6 separate regions of the Homo sapiens genome follow, and all the other regions are linked to region 6. Evidence: promoter capture Hi-C in 16 types of primary human blood cells and fetal thymus (Javierre and others, 2016). All regions are on one chromosome and are shown on one strand. Each heading gives the region's core, a stretch centred on a gene start or on the middle of the fragment in contact. The rest is flanking DNA. Distances are from core to core; before and after follow the strand shown.

The links. The method cuts DNA at HindIII sites, captures the fragments that hold promoters and counts their contacts. A CHiCAGO score of 5 or more calls a contact.
Region 1: a contact is called between a fragment that was not itself captured here and the fragment with the promoter of EPGN in region 6, in 1 of 17 cell types (M2 macrophages). The highest score is 5.8, in M2 macrophages.
Region 2: a contact is called between a fragment that was not itself captured here and the fragment with the promoter of EPGN in region 6, in 8 of 17 cell types (monocytes, M2 macrophages, M0 macrophages and 5 more). The highest score is 12.0, in monocytes.
Region 3: a contact is called between a fragment that was not itself captured here and the fragment with the promoter of EPGN in region 6, in 7 of 17 cell types (monocytes, total CD4 T cells, M0 macrophages and 4 more). The highest score is 10.3, in monocytes.
Region 4: a fragment that was not itself captured here is called in contact with the fragment with the promoter of EPGN in region 6 in 3 of 17 cell types (erythroblasts, monocytes and megakaryocytes); the score reaches 7.9 in erythroblasts.
Region 5: a fragment that was not itself captured here is called in contact with the fragment with the promoter of EPGN in region 6 in 5 of 17 cell types (monocytes, naive CD4 T cells, non-activated CD4 T cells and 2 more); the score reaches 7.1 in monocytes.

What each region holds. Positions count from the first base shown.
Region 1 is chr4:74,701,183-74,704,119 of GRCh38, forward strand. No RefSeq gene overlaps it. Among named protein-coding and RNA genes, the nearest start is that of BTC, 92 kb to the right of the region's middle. The HindIII fragment of the contact is 2,911 bases long and covers 100-2,937 here.
Region 2 is chr4:74,679,348-74,682,420 of GRCh38, forward strand. No RefSeq gene overlaps it. Among named protein-coding and RNA genes, the nearest start is that of BTC, 110 kb to the right of the region's middle. The HindIII fragment of the contact is 8,908 bases long and covers 1-3,073 here.
Region 3 is chr4:74,659,836-74,662,535 of GRCh38, forward strand. No RefSeq gene overlaps it. Among named protein-coding and RNA genes, the nearest start is that of BTC, 130 kb to the right of the region's middle. RefSeq lists enhancers at 1-740, 1-122. The HindIII fragment of the contact is 5,885 bases long and covers 1-2,700 here.
Region 4 is chr4:74,617,207-74,620,029 of GRCh38, forward strand. No RefSeq gene overlaps it. Among named protein-coding and RNA genes, the nearest start is that of AREG, 170 kb to the left of the region's middle. The HindIII fragment of the contact is 3,702 bases long and covers 1-2,823 here.
Region 5 is chr4:74,637,647-74,640,733 of GRCh38, forward strand. No RefSeq gene overlaps it. Among named protein-coding and RNA genes, the nearest start is that of BTC, 160 kb to the right of the region's middle. The HindIII fragment of the contact is 1,866 bases long and covers 685-2,550 here.
Region 6 is chr4:74,307,140-74,309,839 of GRCh38, forward strand. It overlaps EPGN (epithelial mitogen), which reads left to right and starts at 1,331. Exons shown (of 5, transcript NM_001270989.2): 1 at 1,331-1,437; 2 at 1,954-2,043. The coding sequence starts at 1,395. All of the region lies in intron 2 of LOC105377276 (a long non-coding RNA gene), which reads right to left. The HindIII fragment of the contact is 2,238 bases long and covers 173-2,410 here.

The DNA.
Region 1 (2,937 bases), core at 305-2,804, 390 kb after region 6:
AGTTGTATTGTGGTTATATTGGAAACGTCATTTTTGTGGGAAATACACACTAATGTATTTGGAAATGATGGGACACCCGTTTGGAAACTTTCTTTCAAAAGCTTCAAGAAAAAAGGTCTATGTATTTTTCTTGCAACTTTTCTGTAAATTTGTGATGATTTCAACAATATAAAAATGCATTTAAATCAATGATTAAGCAAAAAACCTCACTAAATTCTATTCATCACCTTCTCCACACTTGTTTCAGATCACTAGAAATATCAGTTCTGCAAGCTCACACAACTGCGAACCAATTTATTAATGGACACGCTAAGCTACATTGCTGTGGAAAGGCATTGTCTTAGCATAGTTTTTTTCCAACGAGTACCCTGACAGCATCTCTATTTCTACTTAGAGGCTGAAAACACTTTGCCATTAAATAACTATTTTCAACAGTGAGAATTTTGTATACTAAAAAATATATAAAGATATCTCCTCCATAATCCATTACACTCTCCAAGGTATTTTCACATACCTTACATCACTGGATTCTCATCAGATTGGGAGGCAACTTGAGGGAGCTGAAAGAGAAGGAGTCCTAGACTAGGAAGGACTTGGCCTGTGATTCCAGCTGCACACATCCTGTGTGCCTTGGGAACATTGCCTAAATTCTCTGGGCCTCTCCTTCAATAGCTGCATCTCCTAAGTAATAAATGTGCCATTTACAATAATCACACTTTTCATTGTGAAGATATAGTAAAGTAAAAGTCACCAGGATGAAGTATAAATCACAATCAAGGATCACTTGTTTATCCAACCAACAATTATCCTGTACTTGTTCAGTGCCAAGCACTGTTCTAGGCACAGGAGACATAGCTATGCCCTACAGATATGGTTCCTGCCATCAAGTTCACAGTCTAATGGAAGCAGAGACAGACAGGACAATCAAATGATGATATCACCAAGTGACTGGGGTAAGGTAAAGAGTGACTTTAAGAAAGATAGTCACAGTGAGCTTCTTTAAGAAGAGCTGACACTTCAGTAACAGGAGGCAGCCGTGCTAAGACCTGCACGAGCAGCTCCCCCAGAGTGACCCATCAGAGGGGAAAGATGCCTTCAGAGGGAAAGGTTGCTTTGTGGAAATGCAGCTTTCTGTCAGTGTCCTGTGATCCCAGGCTGCAGAGTCTGTGAACACAGCATTATCCCTTCAGCTGCTGGTTGTTTGGGTACATTCATGGAGAAATCATATCAGGGTGAATAAGAGTACCCCAATTATTCTAACCTCAAACTCAAAGAGATTCAGCTAAAGAATAACCCTAGACTTTTAAGGAATTTTTTTTAAAGATAATGTGTGTATGTGTGTGTGTATGTGTGTAATATTATTCAAATTTTTATATGATTACATTTCATACGAATATTATTTCTGAAATCAGTTATTTTCTATTCTCCTAACTCAACAATTACACTCCCATTTACATACTATATTAGGGCAATTATCCTCAAGTATAATTAAGAAGCTAAAAAATGAGCACAGAAAGTCTTTGTGACCACATACAGGCAGACTGCCTTATAATTGAATTGCATGAATCAGGTAAAAAGCAAAGAAAGAAGAGAAAAGTTATTCCAACTCTAAAACCTCCGACTATCCGACAGTCATGGATTGTCCCCAAACACGGACTGTTAGTTTTATTGTCATTTACTTTGTACATTCACATCAGTAAAGTTTAGTCATTTGATTCATGCTTCAAAATTTTTTAATTGCAAAGTTTTCATGACTTAAAAATGGAAAACTCCTGAATTAGAAAGACTGTTCACATTTATGTGTCTGTCTATTTGTGCTAAAAATTATTTCTCCAGTCTACATTTACATTCCAATCTAGGATTGCTCTTAGAGAATTCTGAAATGCTTTCTATATTTGGTAGAACTGCATCAGAAACAAAAATATGCACATTTATTTCTTGAAGGATCATACCATGTTTAACATGTAATTCCAGCTCCCCTTTGCCTTTACATTTTTCTTTCATGGGGAAAAAAAATGCTTTCAAGGTATGGATGGCACAGGCCATTTGGCCTCAGACCAAAAATCACCTGAGGATCTGTGACTTCCTGGAATAGCTGGGTGTCAGTCATAGAGGTCCTGGTTCAGAGGCTGAGGCACACAAAGCCTCCTTATGTCAGGAGGGTGCTAGAGTCAAAATTCTCATCCTCTCCTTTCCCATCTAATCTCTATTCTTAAGAAGCACTTAAGGCACACAAAGTAAGTGTTGGGTGAATATTCCAGAATTAGCAAAGTGTGCTGAGACTTCTAATCATTTCACAACAGCGTTCTCTCCTTCTTTCTTTATATCTCTGAGTATTAGTTGAGTGAATGGCTGCTCTTCTACAGTCCACTTCTCCCAGCTAAGTGAGTTTGTGTGGTTGAGTGTTGGCCAAGAGTGTGTGAGCAGAAGCTATTCCCCAAAGGAAACTGCAACCCCTACACTGCTCTTTTCCTCACTCCTTGGACTGAACAACATTGACCACCCCAAGATGAAGGCAAATCCCTAGGGAGTAATAAAGCCATGGGATTAAAGGATCCTGGTTCTTTGAATGACATCATGAAACAAAGCCACCTACTTTTCAGCTGTTACATGACAGAAAAATATTACTAAACTTCTATTTTGTTTAAACAACGGTGCTTTCAGTTTGTTGATGACAGAAGTTCAATTAGTATCCAAACTAGCACCCACAGCAATTAATTCAACATGTATTTGATTATCTCCTTTCTTTGTGCTAGGTACTGTGCTACTTTCAGTGGGAAATTAAAAAAAAATCAGAAGATATATTTCTTGCCCTTACAGAGGTTAAAAACTAGTAGAAAATTATATGCACAGAAGTAACTACAAAGCAAGGGAGGATGCAAGAATGCATCAGAGAAGGAAGACAGCATAAAATTCTGTCAATCTGTTAAACTTGTA
Region 2 (3,073 bases), core at 182-2,681, 370 kb after region 6:
ATATTGGAATGGAGTTTTCTTTCTTTGATGTTTCTTTGCCGAGTTTTGGTAACAGGGTAATATTGGCTCCATAGAATGAGTTTGGAAGAATTCCCTCCTCCTCTATTTTCCAGAACAGTTTTGGCAGGATTGGTATTAATTCTTCTTTAAATGTTGGGAAAAATTCAGCAGTGAAGGCATCAGGTCTTGGGTTTTTCTTTGCTGGGAGACGTTTTATTATAGCTTCAATCTCATTACTTGTTATTGGTCTGTTTAGGTTTTGGATTTCTTCATGGTTCAGTCTTGGAAGGTAATATGTGTCTGAGAATTTATTAATTTCCTCTAGGTTTTCCAACTTATTAGCATATAGTTTCTCATAGTAGCCACTAATGATCGTTTGAATTTCTGTGGTATTGGTTGTAATATCTCCTTTTTCATCTCTGATTTTATGTATTTGGGTCTTCTGTCTTTTTTTCTTAGTTAGTTTGGCTAAAGGTTTGTCAATTTTGTTTATCTTTTCAAAAAACAACCTTTTGGTAAGATTTGGTATTTTTCTTCATTTTTATTTCATGTATTTCTGCTCTGATCATTATTATTTATTTTATTCTACTAAGTTTGGGCTTATTTTGCTCTTGCTTTTCTAGTTCTTTAAGATGCATTGTTATGTTGTTTATTTGAAGTTTTTCTACTTTTTTAAAGTAGGCAGTTATTGCTATAGACTTTCCTGTTAGTACTGCTTTCACTGTATCCCACAGATTTTGTAATGCTTTGTTTCCATTAATGTTTGTTTCAATAAATTTTTCAATCTCCTTCTTAATTCCTTCGTTGATCCACTGGTCATTCAAGAGCCTATTGTTTAATTTCCATAAGTTTTTATAGTTTCCAAAGTTTCTGTTGTTATTAATTTCTACATTTATTTTATTCTTGTCAGAGAAGATACTTAATATGATTTTAATTTTTTGAATGTTTTAAGACTTGTTTCCCCATGTGTTGGGGAAAAGAAAGTGTATTCTGCAGCTTGTGAATGAAATGTTCTGTAAATATCTATTAGGTCCATTTGTCTAGAGTGCAGAGTAAGCCTGATATTTCTTTGTTGGTTTTCAGTCTGGATGATCTGTCCAATGCTGAAAGTGAGGTTTTGGAGTCTCCAGCTATTACTGTATTGGGGTTTATCTCTCTCTTTAGCTCTAATAATATTTGCTTTATATATCTGGGTGCTCCAGTGTTTGGTGCACATACATTTACAATTGTTATATTCTCTTTCTGAATTGATTCCTTTATCATTATATAATGACCTTCTTTGTCTCTATATAGTTTTTATTTTTTGTTTTGAAATCATTTTGTCCAATATAAGTATAGCTACTTTTGCTCTTTTTGGTTTCCATTTGCATGGAATATCTTTTTCCTTCCCTTTCTTTTTAATCTGTGTCTGTCTTTATAGTTGAAATGTCTTTCTTGTAAGCAACCAATAGTTGGGTCTTCCTTTTTTAAATCTATTCAGCTACTCTATGTCTTTCTTTGGAAAGTTTAGTCAATTTATATTCCGTGTTATTATTAATAAGTAAAGACTTACTCCTGCCATCTTGTTATTTGTTTTCTGTCTGTTTTGTTTCTTTTCTTTCTTCCTGAATTTCTTTCAGTGAAGGTGATTTTCTCTGGTGGTATGTTCCAATTTCTTGCTTTTTACATTTTGTGTATCTGTTGCATGCTTTTTGATTTGTGGTTACCATTAGGCTTGCAAATAATATTTTATATCTTGGTATTTTAAACTAATGGCAACATTGATTGTGTAAACAAACTAATAAGCAAAGAGACAAGTAAAAAAGCTCTAAAATTTAGCTTCATCACCCAGCTTTTTAACTTTTTGTTGTTTCTACTTATGTTTTGTTATATTATGTCTGTCTATGTCTTGAAAAGTTGTAGTTATTATTTCCGATCAGTTCAATTTAGTGTTTCTACTAAAGATATGAATTGTTTGTACTTCACAATCATAATGTTTTAATATTAGTAATGTTTAGTAATTAGTAATATTACTTAGTGTTTTACTGTGTGTTTAATATTACCAGTGAGTTCTGTACTTTCAGATGAGTTCTTATTGCTCATTAATGCCCTTTCTTTCAGATTAAAGAACACTCGTTAGCATTTCTCATAGGACAGGTCTGGTGTTAATAAAATCCCTCAGCTTTTATTTGTCTGGGAGAGTCTTTATTTTTCCTTCAGATTTGAAGGATATTTTCATTGGATACACTATTCTAGGGCAAACGTTTTTGCCTCAACACTTTAAATATGGCATGCCAGTCTCTCCAGGCCTGTAAGATTTCAATGGAGAAGTCTACTGCCAGACATATTAGAGCTCCCTTGTGTGTTAATTTTTTTAATTTTCTCTTGATGCTTTTAGAATCATTTCTTTATCATTGACCTTTGTGAGTTTTATTATTAAATGTCTTGAAGTAGTCTTATTTGGATTAAATCTGCTTGGTGTTCTATAATCCTCTTGTACTTGAATATTGGTATCTTTCTCTAGGTTTGAGAAGTTCTTTGTTATTATCTCTTTGAATAAACTTTCTACTCTGATCTCTTGTTTAAGATCCTCTTTTAAGGCCAATACACTACAATTTGCCCTTTTAAGGCTATTTTCTAGATCATATAGGCATCCTTCATTATTTTCTCTTCTTTTTTCTTTTGTCTCTTCTGAGTCTGAATTTTCAAGTAGCCTGTCTTCAAACTGACCAATTCTGTCTTCTGCTTGATCGATTCTGCTATTAAAAGATTCTGATCCATTATTTACTATGTCAATTGCATTTTTCAGCTCCAGTATTTCTGCTTGATTCTTTTAAGTTATTTCTATCTCTTTGTTAAATTTATATGATAGAATGCTGAGTTCCTTCTCTGTGTTATATTTAATTTCATTGAGCTTCCTCAAATAACTATTTTGAATTCTCTTTCTGAAAGGTCACATATCTCTGCCTCTCCAGGATTAGTATCTGGTGAGTACCTTAATTCATTTGGTGAGGTCGTGTTTTCCTGGATGGTCTTGATGCCTGTGGATGTTCATTAGTGTCTGGATGTTCATAGAGTCAAGTATTTATTGTAG
Region 3 (2,700 bases), core at 77-2,576, 350 kb after region 6:
AGTGAGCTTGCACAAACCACTGTATAAACCATTACCCCCACAACTGAAGTTAATTCCCTAATTGTCTCCTCCTCCAAGTTCTGGGGAGTGAATCAGCCATTTGGCATTCTTCCCTACTTCTGACTGACTCAGAAGTACTTCCGTCACAACTGCCACACATTTTTGAAAAAGAAGGAGTGGAGTTGTTATATGAGTCATAAGAGAATGAGAAACAGGAGTGAGGTGAAAGGTGAGGTCAATATCCCAAATGCATTTCAAAAGAGGTAGTCAAAGGATAAAAAAGATGTTTTACACTAGAAACTTTTGAAGATATTAGTAACTAAACAGACTTTTGATGACTACTCTTTACTTTTGAAAGGTCATCTTTCTTAACCTTCAAAAAACACACAGATACCCACATACAAAGAGAGACAGAAAAATAAAGAGAGAGAGATCTGATTCTCTTCTCAAACACCTTATTGAAAATACACTTTTCCTATGATTTTCTTCATCCTTATTCTATCATATGGCTAAATTTAACGTTCCAAATCATTGGTTATAGATAAACTAAATGAAATCAGGCTTTTCAACTCCATGGTTGGCCATTGAACAATGTATGGTCTTAGAATAATTAAACTCCAAGAGCACAGTTTGGTTATTGATAAGAAAAAGATTTTTTTTTTTAAAGTTTAACCGGAACCTAATTTTCAGCAGAGCACAGGCAAATTGATTTCTTTTTTATTTACAGGTAATTTAGGATTTTCAAAATAATGTGATAAAAGATGGGCCCCAGGGTAAAACCCAGTAGATCGGATAACAGTATAAAAATCACTGACCATACTCAGCAAAAAACATTAGTTCAGCACTGGCCAAAGCCACAGGTGAGAGATTTAGCCAGTAAGTCTCCACAATATTTTGGAAGATATTTATGAGCCTCTTGGGACCCATGTCAAATAAAACCTTGTTTACAAATCTGTAATAATGTTAGTTAACTTTTTAACTCCCAAGAAAAGTTTCAAAAAGTGCTGCCTTACCTTTATTATATTTGAAGTAGATATATCCAATTTTCTACGATTCAAGGCCTGATTGGATACTAAATTTATGGAGGAATAGACAGACTATTCCCAGGGGATTTTTTTCTCTACTGTTTGTAGCATGGGATCTTATGAAGAGCAATTGAGCACTGTGGTCAGTAGCACCAGCTCTTATAGCAGCTTGCTTGGAATGGAATCCTACTTGGAATGGAATCCTACTTTGCCTTCTCCTTACTCCATTCCATTAGACGGTTTTCCACTTCTCTGTGCCTTACTTTCCCTATCCTTAAAATAAAGATAGAGACAATACTTATTTGATAGTGTTGTTATGGAGATTAAATATAAAGTACTCAGAACAGTGTCAGACATATTAAAAACTCTTTGAAAATGTACACTACAAAAACCATGGGTTTTTGACCTTTTCCAGGTTATGCAGATGCAGAGCTGAGACTTGAACCCACACCTCTGAAACCCCTGACCTACAGGCTCAGACGTGCTCACTACCATTACCCCAGAGCTAGGTGCTGTGTGAATAATTGTCATGCTGAGTAATTAATGAAAATTAATTTAGTACCTCTGCCAAATTGGAAAGTTTTACTTGAAACTTGAAATGAGCTTTCTCTTTACTTTTTTTTTTTTTTAATATAAGGGTTTATGGAGTAAGTGAAATCTTATGAGATACTTAAACTTGTAAAATAGAAAAAGCTGCAAATGAGTAAATGCCTGGAGTACTGACTTTAATACCATGACTAATAGATGATTGTTCTTTCAGGACCCATTTTGCCTACAGGCTTCTAAGCCTTTAAAGGGCTGCTCTGGAGGCCATGGTTCTACTGGTAACATAATCATATTTTCTGTCTCAGTAAATTGACAGAGCTACAAAGCAACAGAACAATGTCATTAACTACTGTTACAGCCTCTGGGTCTCAGCAAATATTTGCTGACTTGTGACAATTGGAGACCTCATTCATTTACTCAGAGTCATCACCATCTTTTCAGGTTGCCACAGTCTCTTTCCTCAAAGTCATCTTTGACCCAAAAAGTGGAAGTTGGCTATGACACAAATTGCTAGCAAAACAAGATGGAATTTTCAACTGTTACAGGATAAGACAAGTAAGAGATAGATGTGATGAAATGCAAGTCCTGGAAGCGAAGGAATGGTGTAAAATGTCACTTACTGCAAGATTCCTTCTTTGTTTGACTCACTCAGTTGAAATGGAGGCCATTACATTTCACATTCTGGTGGCCTAGGGGCACAGCCCATCATGAAATCTTGCAGGAAACTCTCTGTTCAAGTGACCCGTGAGTGCCACTTTGGGGTCTAGAATGTGACTCATTCTTCCATACATAGTTTTTGTGTAAAGAAAATAAATTAATATATAACAAACATGTTTAATTTCCACTGACCCCACCCTATCCTAACTTCCCAGAAATTTTAGCCTAACCTTGAGTTCTCATATGAATTGACTCTCCAGGTGCAATGACTATTATGACAAAATCTGAGTAAGAGTTTGTACCACTGTCCCTCCACCCTAAAGGGATTTACTTACATAGAAAGTCTAAAAACTGATTACTCCATTTGTTCCAGGAGACAACCTCCCACTAGACAAATGATGACTTGATTTGAAAAGCACTTTTAAAAAGAAGTCTGCCCTTCAGTGAAGGCAACCCAACTTAATAGTAATTA
Region 4 (2,823 bases), core at 18-2,517, 310 kb after region 6:
AGATCATTTTTAATAGATCTTTCTTCAAGTTCAGCACGCCTTTCTTCTGCCATTTCCAATCTGCTGATAAGTCCATCTAGTGATTTCTTCCATTTTAGATATTCTGTTTTTCAGTTTCAGAATTTCATTTTTATTCTTTTAAAATACTTTCTATTTCTTTACTGAGATGTCCTATATTTTCATTTATTATGAGAATATTCTTTACATTTTAAATATGTTTATAATAGCCACTTTAAAAATTTTGCCTGCTGATTCTAACATTCTGGTCATCTTGGGATTGGTTTCTACTGACTACCTTTCTCTTAAATCTGAGACGTATTTTCTTGTTTTTTTTTTTCTTGTTTATTTTTATTTTTATTTTAGATGGGGTCTCGCTCTGTCACCCAGGCTGGAGTGCAGTGGTGCGATCTCGGCTCACTGCAACCTCTGCCTCCCAGGTTCAAACAATTCTCTGCCTCAGCCTCCCGAGTAGCTGGGATTACAAGCACCTGGCATCACGCCCAGCTAATTTTTGTATTTTTAGTAGAGACAGGGTTTCACCATCTGGGCCAGGCAGGTCTTGAACTCCTGACCTTGTGATCCACCTGCCTCAGACTCCCAAAGTGCTGGGATTAAAGGGGTGAGCCACTGCACCAGGCCTTTCTTGTTTCTTTGTATAGCCCATAATTTTATGTGGTATCCTGGTCATTAAAAAATGATACATTAAAGAGACTCTGAATTCTCTTATTTTCCCTTAGAGAATATCAATATGTTGTTGTAACAGATAGTTAACTTGGCTGAACTCAAGCTCCAAATTCTAATATCGAATTTAGTTCTTTTAGCTTTAGGTGCACTGCCTGGAATCTGCTCTACACAGGCATTCTTCAGTGTCACCCAGAAATGTAAGCAGGCTTTCTGTAGAGAATTTGTAGCTCCCTTTATGTGACTCTCCTTTCTGGGATTACCCCCACTCACTTTACAATTGCCAAGGTCCCCCCAAATCTGTCCTGAAGTTAATTAAGCCTATGAGGTTATACAGCTACTGTCTAGGTTTTAGTGGCCCTTGTTTGTTACAGATTGGGATCTGCTCTCAGATTAAAAGCTCCAAAGACAGGAAACTCACTCAGTGCCCTTCCCTTCTTTCAAGTGTCAGCCTCCTGTCCCAAGTGTCTGCCTGCGATTATTTCTTTCCCATTATGTTCAGGAAATTGCTTATTATATTTATACTTGTTATTTTCCTGAAAGTTGGTATTTGTGAGGCAGAACCTACCAGGCCAAGCATGTTGGAACTTTCTGTGACCTATCACTAGAATCTCACTTCTTCCCACCACTTGCACCCTTACCCAAAATGCCATCATCTTTCACTTGAATTATTATCATATTCCTAAGTGGTGCACAGTTTCTGTTCTTTTCCTCCTATAGGCTTTTTTTTTTTTTAATCACAGAAGTCAGAGTAACCCCATTTGAGTCATGTCAGCTCATAATCTTGCAATGTTTTCCTATCTCCCTGAGAGTGAGAGCCAACACCTATAACCTGGCCACAAAGCTCCACACAATCTGGTTCCCAGTAGTAGCTGTGATCTCTTCTCCTGCCACTGCCCCCATGCTCAGTTCACTCCAGGCAGTCACAATGACCACATCATTCTTCCTCAAACACCCCGACTCACTGCCCCCTTGGAGACTGTGTGCTTGTTCTTCCTGGCTCATGAAATATTTGTTCCCAAGATATTTGCTTGACTCACATCTCCTTCAAATATTTGACTCACATAACTTTCCCATTGAATTCTCTGATCATCCTATTTTAATCCTATCTCTTTAGTTTCATACTCCCCACTCTCTTTGCCTAATTTTCATCATCATCATATGTCCTATTTATTTGTTGATATTTTGTCTCTGCCAGTACAATATAAGTTTCATGAGAACATATATCTTTGTCTGTTGATTCATTAAGGCATGCCAAATGCCTAAAACAGTTTTAGGTGTAGAGAAGGCATTTGTAGACTGTTTTGAACATATTAGGTAAGTGGAAGGGCTGAATCTTAATTACCCTGGCATGGGCTTCAGCATCTAGAAAAATTCCTAGCACATAATTTTCAATTTAAAAATATCCTTGAATTTGTAAGTGAATAAATCAATAAATGGGTAGCCCAATAATCCTTTCTGGGCCACAAATTCTTCATTTTTTCTAGGTATCTTGTATTTATGCATAATATTAAAACTTTCCTTCTAGATAACCTTAATGCACTCGTTTAAAGAATAATTTCCTTATTACAGTTGCAATTATCTGAAAAAAGCCTATGTACAAGTGAGTAAATAGGCAGCTGCCTTATCATAGTAATAGATTGTGAACTTCATACATTCTGCCATTAACCAATATCCTTTCAGTCTCAATAATTTGTTGATGATCTTAAGTGTGCCTTATTTTGAGTGAAATTTAATAGATATTAAATTGACTAAAATTCTAGAAGACTCTACTTAAGTGATGTGTTAACAACCATTGTTCAATAAAAGCAAGGGTCTCTACTTATGTGTGGTGAAAGGAACCTGAATTTGGGGGCAAGATGGATTTGATTAGAATCCTGGTCTGCCCAACCCAAGACAAGGGGCGTGACCTTGGGCTCCCTGCTGAGCATGTGTCTCATCTGTAAAATGAGGGTGATACACTACCTACCTATTACATTTATTGAAAGAACTGCATAAAATAATGTACGTAACATGCCTGATATACAACTGATTTTCAAAAATTGTCTTTCATTTTACTTATCTCCACTCCATTTTATTGTTTCTCTTATTTGTTTGTTTCATTTCTGCTCTTGGGCATTTAAGCTCTTTTTGTCATTAGCA
Region 5 (3,087 bases), core at 368-2,867, 330 kb after region 6:
TAAATAGAGAAAAGTCAAAATTCAAGAGCTGAGGAATAGAAAGAAGTTGGCTTACGTGTTTTTAAAGATAAGCTTCATGTGACAATAATATTTGTTATTTTGTCTGGAATAACTTTTTCCTTTTTTTAATAAGCATTTTTTTTCTGAAAATGTATATGCTGTATCAATGATATATTATGGATGACATTTATTTTAACAGATGTTTTTAACCATATTTCAAATACATTACATTCACAAGGCTTTGCCTCTTTTTCAGTGAAAGAAAATAATGAGCAGATGCTAGATTTCTTAAGGTTCAACAGTTTATGGCTCCAAAAATAAAAGTTAAATATATTTAAAAGTAAATTCAATAAGCAAGTGATTAACCATAACCTGATAATTACATATTTAATTTTTTTACAATAAACCCCTTAATGTGATACAAGGTGAATCTTCTAAACTTGGCATCAATGAAACACTTTTCTTAGGGGAAAGGAAAATTGGATTGCATGGCTCTGACTCAAACCAGAATCCATCTGTTCCAGGATTCTGACCTTAATTTCTCCCACCACCCCACTGACTGCAGGAGCTATGCATCCCGTTTCATCATCTAGCATAGGCATGGATATTTGCCTTTCACTAAATAAGTCATAGCAGAGCTAAGAAACAACTTCAAGGTCTAGATAACTTAATCAAAGCATGGGAAGCTTCAATTGTAAATAAGTTAAAAATAATTTAAATGGCAAAATCATGAAGAAAAATTTATGTAGTATAAAACATTACCTAAGCTATATACAGTGAAAATTTTAAAGCATTCCATTCTTCTATTAATATATGAAAAAGAATAAGGATAAAAACTAATTATGCCAAAAAAACTAATAAAACAATCACCAAACTTTTGCTTCTATAAATGTGATGGTAAGCCAGTTTCAAGGACCCTCTTGATAAAATATCAGTCACTAAAACACAAATTCCAACAAATTTTAATGCATTGTAGGTCTAACTAGAAAGTGAAGAAAACTCCAAAAATCACATCAAATAAAAAACTAAAACAAATAAACAAAATACATAGGGAAAGAAGTCTACTAAAACCATAGGAGAAAGCTCTAAATAGCAGGCAAATTAGGGAAATATAGACAATAAAACTTGGTTTTCCCAGTGAATGATAGTCCATGAGGTTGAGTGTCTGTGATATGAACATTTGAAATCTGAAATGCTCCAAAATGTAATACATTTTGAGCACCCACATGATGTCGCAATTAGAAAATCCCACACGTGACCTCATATGCTGGGTTGCAGTCAAACTGCAGTCACACAACACAGTTCATTCAGCAACCCCAAGGGGAAAAAGACCCTCCCAGCACCCTTCAGCTACAATGTATCTTTTTCATGAGGCCCAGATTCCCCCACCCAAGCACACCCATAAAAGGTAATCAAATGGCAACTGTACGTGCCAGACACACCAACAGCAAGTTCCTCATGGTGCCTCACATGGAGCCAAGACCTACAAGCATTACTCACTCTGTTTTTTTGCTTATTGTCTGCTCTGTGGCATATAGATATGGTTGAAAATGTCAAAAAGGGCTGCATATATCCATATGGATAACTGTAATAAGAGGAATCATTTATGTTTATTTATAGCATAAAATGTTGAGTTGTGGGATAAACTGGACAGTGGAGTGTGAAACATCTTGTGGAAGAATACCATATATGACCTGAAGAAAAAGAAGAATAAACTTTCTAAGTTCTATGCTGAAAGTGATGAGGAGAAATTAATAACAAATAGAAAAACACTGCATAAAGCTAAAAATGAAGATCTCAATTGTGTATTGAAAGAGTCGATCTGGGGCCGGGCACAGTGGCTCACGCCTGTAATCCAGCACTTTGGGAGGCCAAGGCGGGGGGATCACATAAGGGCAGGAGTTTGAGCCTGGCCAACGTGATGAAACTCTGTCTCTACTAAAAATACAAAAATTAGCCAGGCATGGTGGCAGGTGCCTGTAATCCCAGCTACTTGGGAGGCTGCAGCAGGAGAATCACTTGAACCCAGGAGGTGGAGGTTGCAGTGAGCCGAGATCACACCATTGCAATGCAGTCTGGGTGACAAGAGTGAAACTCTGTCTCAAAAAAAAAAAAAAAAAGAGTGGATCTATCAGCATCATAGTGAACACATGCCACTTAATTATATGAAAACAAGCAAGCAAAGATCTATCACAATGGACTAAAATTTGAAGGGAACTATGAATATTCAGCAGACTGGTTGCAGAAATTTAAGAAACACATGACATTAAGTTTTAAAGATTTGTGATGATAAAGTGACTGCTGATCACCAAGCGGTGGGGAAATTAATTAGCAAATTTGCCAAGGTCATAGCTGATGAAAATCTGACAACAGCACAAGTCTATAATGCTTATGAAACACCACTGTCTTGGCATTATTGCCCCAGAAAGACACTGACTATGGCTGATGAGACAGCCCCTACAGGAATTAAGGGTGCCTAGGACAGAATACCTGTGCTGGGATTTGCTAATACAGCAGACATGCTTAAGTTAAACTGTTGTGATAAGCAAAAGCTTGCATCTTCACTGTTTTCAAGGAGTAAATCTCTTACTAGCCCACTACTATGCTAACAAAAAGTGATGGATCACCAGAGACATGTTTTTGGATTGGCTTCATAGACATTTGTACTAGTGACTCATGCTCACTGCCAGGAAACTGAACTAGATTGTAACTACAAGATTTTGTTATTCCTTGACAGCTGTTCTGCTCATTCTTCAGCTGAAATTATCATAACAAAATAATGTTTAAGCCATGTACTTTTCTCCAAATGTGACCTCATTAAATTCAACCATGTGATCAGGGTATCCCTAAATCAATGAAAAGTAAATATAAAAACACTTTCTTGAATTCTAGCAGTAGTGAACAAAGGCGTGAATACGGAAGATTTTCAAAAGTTTAGCATGAAAGATGCCATACGTGCTGTTGCCAACACTTGGAACATAGTGACTAAAGACACAATTGTGTATACCTGCCACAACTTCTGGCCCATGACTGTGTTCCATGATGATAAACAAGGTAGTGACTCTGAAAGATTAAGTATGTCAAGTG
Region 6 (2,700 bases), core at 81-2,580:
AAATATATTATCTAGAAATCGACTTAGTAATCAACAGTTTTTTAAAAACCTACAAAAGTAGAAATGCAAAATGTAGACACATTTAAAGCGAGCCAAGTACTATTATATTATTTTAACTTTAAAATGATGACTCCTGTGGCAAGTGATTGCCCAAGTTATAATGAGTTCAACAAGCTTGTTCTTGTGTGATTTCTAACACCACATTTATATTTGAATAGTGAAAGGGCTCCTTTCTGGTAAATCTAATTTGCTGAGTGGACATGATGCAAAAGATAACCTATCTTGACTTGAATATGTTTTTAGGGTTTTGAGGTTTCAAGTTTCAAGAAAATACAAGGAATTGAAATTCCAGACAGAAAGACTCAATGCCTCAGGAAGATATATTTATAAATCATTTATATTAATTTGGGGCAAGTGAAAATTTCTGTAGTTGTAAAATATAGTAGCTGTAATGACATATTTTGGCCTTTAAAGTGCCACTTTAATAATTACAACTAGATGAACTTGAGAAATAATTTGAATGTTGTATTAACTTAGAAACTTTCTATTCATTGGATGTATCCAAACTAAATGTCATCTTAATTTTCTCTTAATGGAGAATTTTAATATTATTATTATTGCTATTATCATTATGTTGGTACTTTACTGGTTCTCTGTAGCTTAATCATTGGGATGCAGATTTAAGCATTGTTGTTCCTGGAATATGGCAGCCCATTTCATTTACTCAGAAAAATGTTAAATAGCAGGATGACAGAAAGGTGAATATTATACTATTAAAAATAATTTTATTTACAGCACTTGTCATAGTAACACTAAGAAACAAACACTAAAATGGAATATGAAACCTCTGTGTTTTCACAAATTTAACTGTTCTCTGCAACTAAATTAACAAATTATCTTGATTTGAAATGGAACTTATAGTCTGTAATAAAAGGTGGTATAACCAACTATAGTTTCAGGTATATTTCTTTTAGAAACAGGTTATGCTGCTTCCTAATTTGCAGTTATGTTTGTTGAACTCCCGTATAGGTTTCTAGCATAGTTTGAGCTGGTATAGTTCTCTTCACACCAATGGGAGCCTTTCCTGAAATTACATTTTGTTCTTGTTGTTTTAAGTACTTTTACATACATGATTATGCCCACAGGTAACAGGAAACCAGTGTTTCAAAAGAAAACTTGATCACATTGCTAGATAATACAGGTATCCTAACCAAGTGCGTGAGCGCCCAGAGGCTTTCTGCTGCTGCCAGAAGTACATATTTTTTTGATTGGTAAGAACTGCCAGATGACGCTTCATGAAATATAAATGCAACAAAGACTCAGAGAGCTCAATAAAAACCTTCCACCCGTCAGTCTAGAAGGATAAGAGAAAGAAAGTTAAGCAACTACAGGAAATGGCTTTGGGAGTTCCAATATCAGTCTATCTTTTATTCAACGGTAGGTAATTTCCTTTTGTTTTGTTAACTTTATATCAGTGTAAAATGTGAATAGAATTTATTTTCTCTGCATTAGAGAGAAGTTGGCTTCTAACAGTTGTTCTTTATGACAAAGATCAGAGTAATGAATCTGTGGATTAATTTAGTTTCTTATGTCCTGTATGTTCCTTTCCTAATATATTTTGACACCTTTTTTGAGACCTCCAGAATGTTTGCTTTATACAATTGAAGAGTAATTGATACATTTAGCTACTATACTATAGGGTTCTTATTTTTTAATTAATATGTAAATGTATCAATGGTCTTAAATATTGGGTTTTTATTTGCTTTAATCCTAATATAGTCAATGGAATGGATGAGAAACTGTAAGTATGTTGCCCTAGTCACGTTATGGATTTCAACTGTAATAAATTAAAAAAATAGAAATTGGAATAAACAGAATAAGAATACTTTCCATCTGTTGCTTGTACATAGAAGGAGGCTCTCTGTTAAAGATGCTTTTGCCCCCTTAATACAGCAATGACAGCACTGACCGAAGAGGCAGCCGTGACTGTAACACCTCCAATCACAGCCCAGCAAGGTAACTGGACAGTTAACAAAACAGAAGGTATTTTCTTCCCATTTTCATATTTCACAAGACTTTTCTAAAACTTGGGAGAGAAATTTGGATTGTGATAAAAGCAATATTGGCCATTTTTAATATATATTTTATTATTAGATAATCAGCTCTTTTAGCAGGATGCTGTTAAATTGAAGTGACAGATAAATGTGCCAGGAAATAATTGCCTTTTTAAAAGGAGGAAGTTAAGCAAATGAGACAAAAGCTGTCTTCAGTTACTGTCTTGAATGTGAAACAGGCCACATTTTCTGCTTCATTTCTGCTTGGTTCCCAATAACCCCTGTGTGTACAGAGACAGTTTGTCCCCATTTTGGCATTCTTGATGAGCAGCATTATATTTTGATCTGTGATTATAAGCTTTGATGCCAAAGACATTATGGCTACAAGATGAACAGCACTTTCCCTCATCTTTGGAATGACCTTTTTTTCTTGTTTGCTTTGGAGTTTTTGTTGTTATTTTAGCATATGCTGTATTTCCTAACCACTTGTACCCAATTTTTGTTGTTGATGGTAATGATATATTTTCTTTTGCACTTAATTATTATCACAGTGGCTTCTGGATGCTCTTGAGCATCAGCGTTCTTTCTCTAATCTGTTTAAACTCTTAGAGGTGAAACTTGGAAAGCTTGTTGCTTACCAAGACCT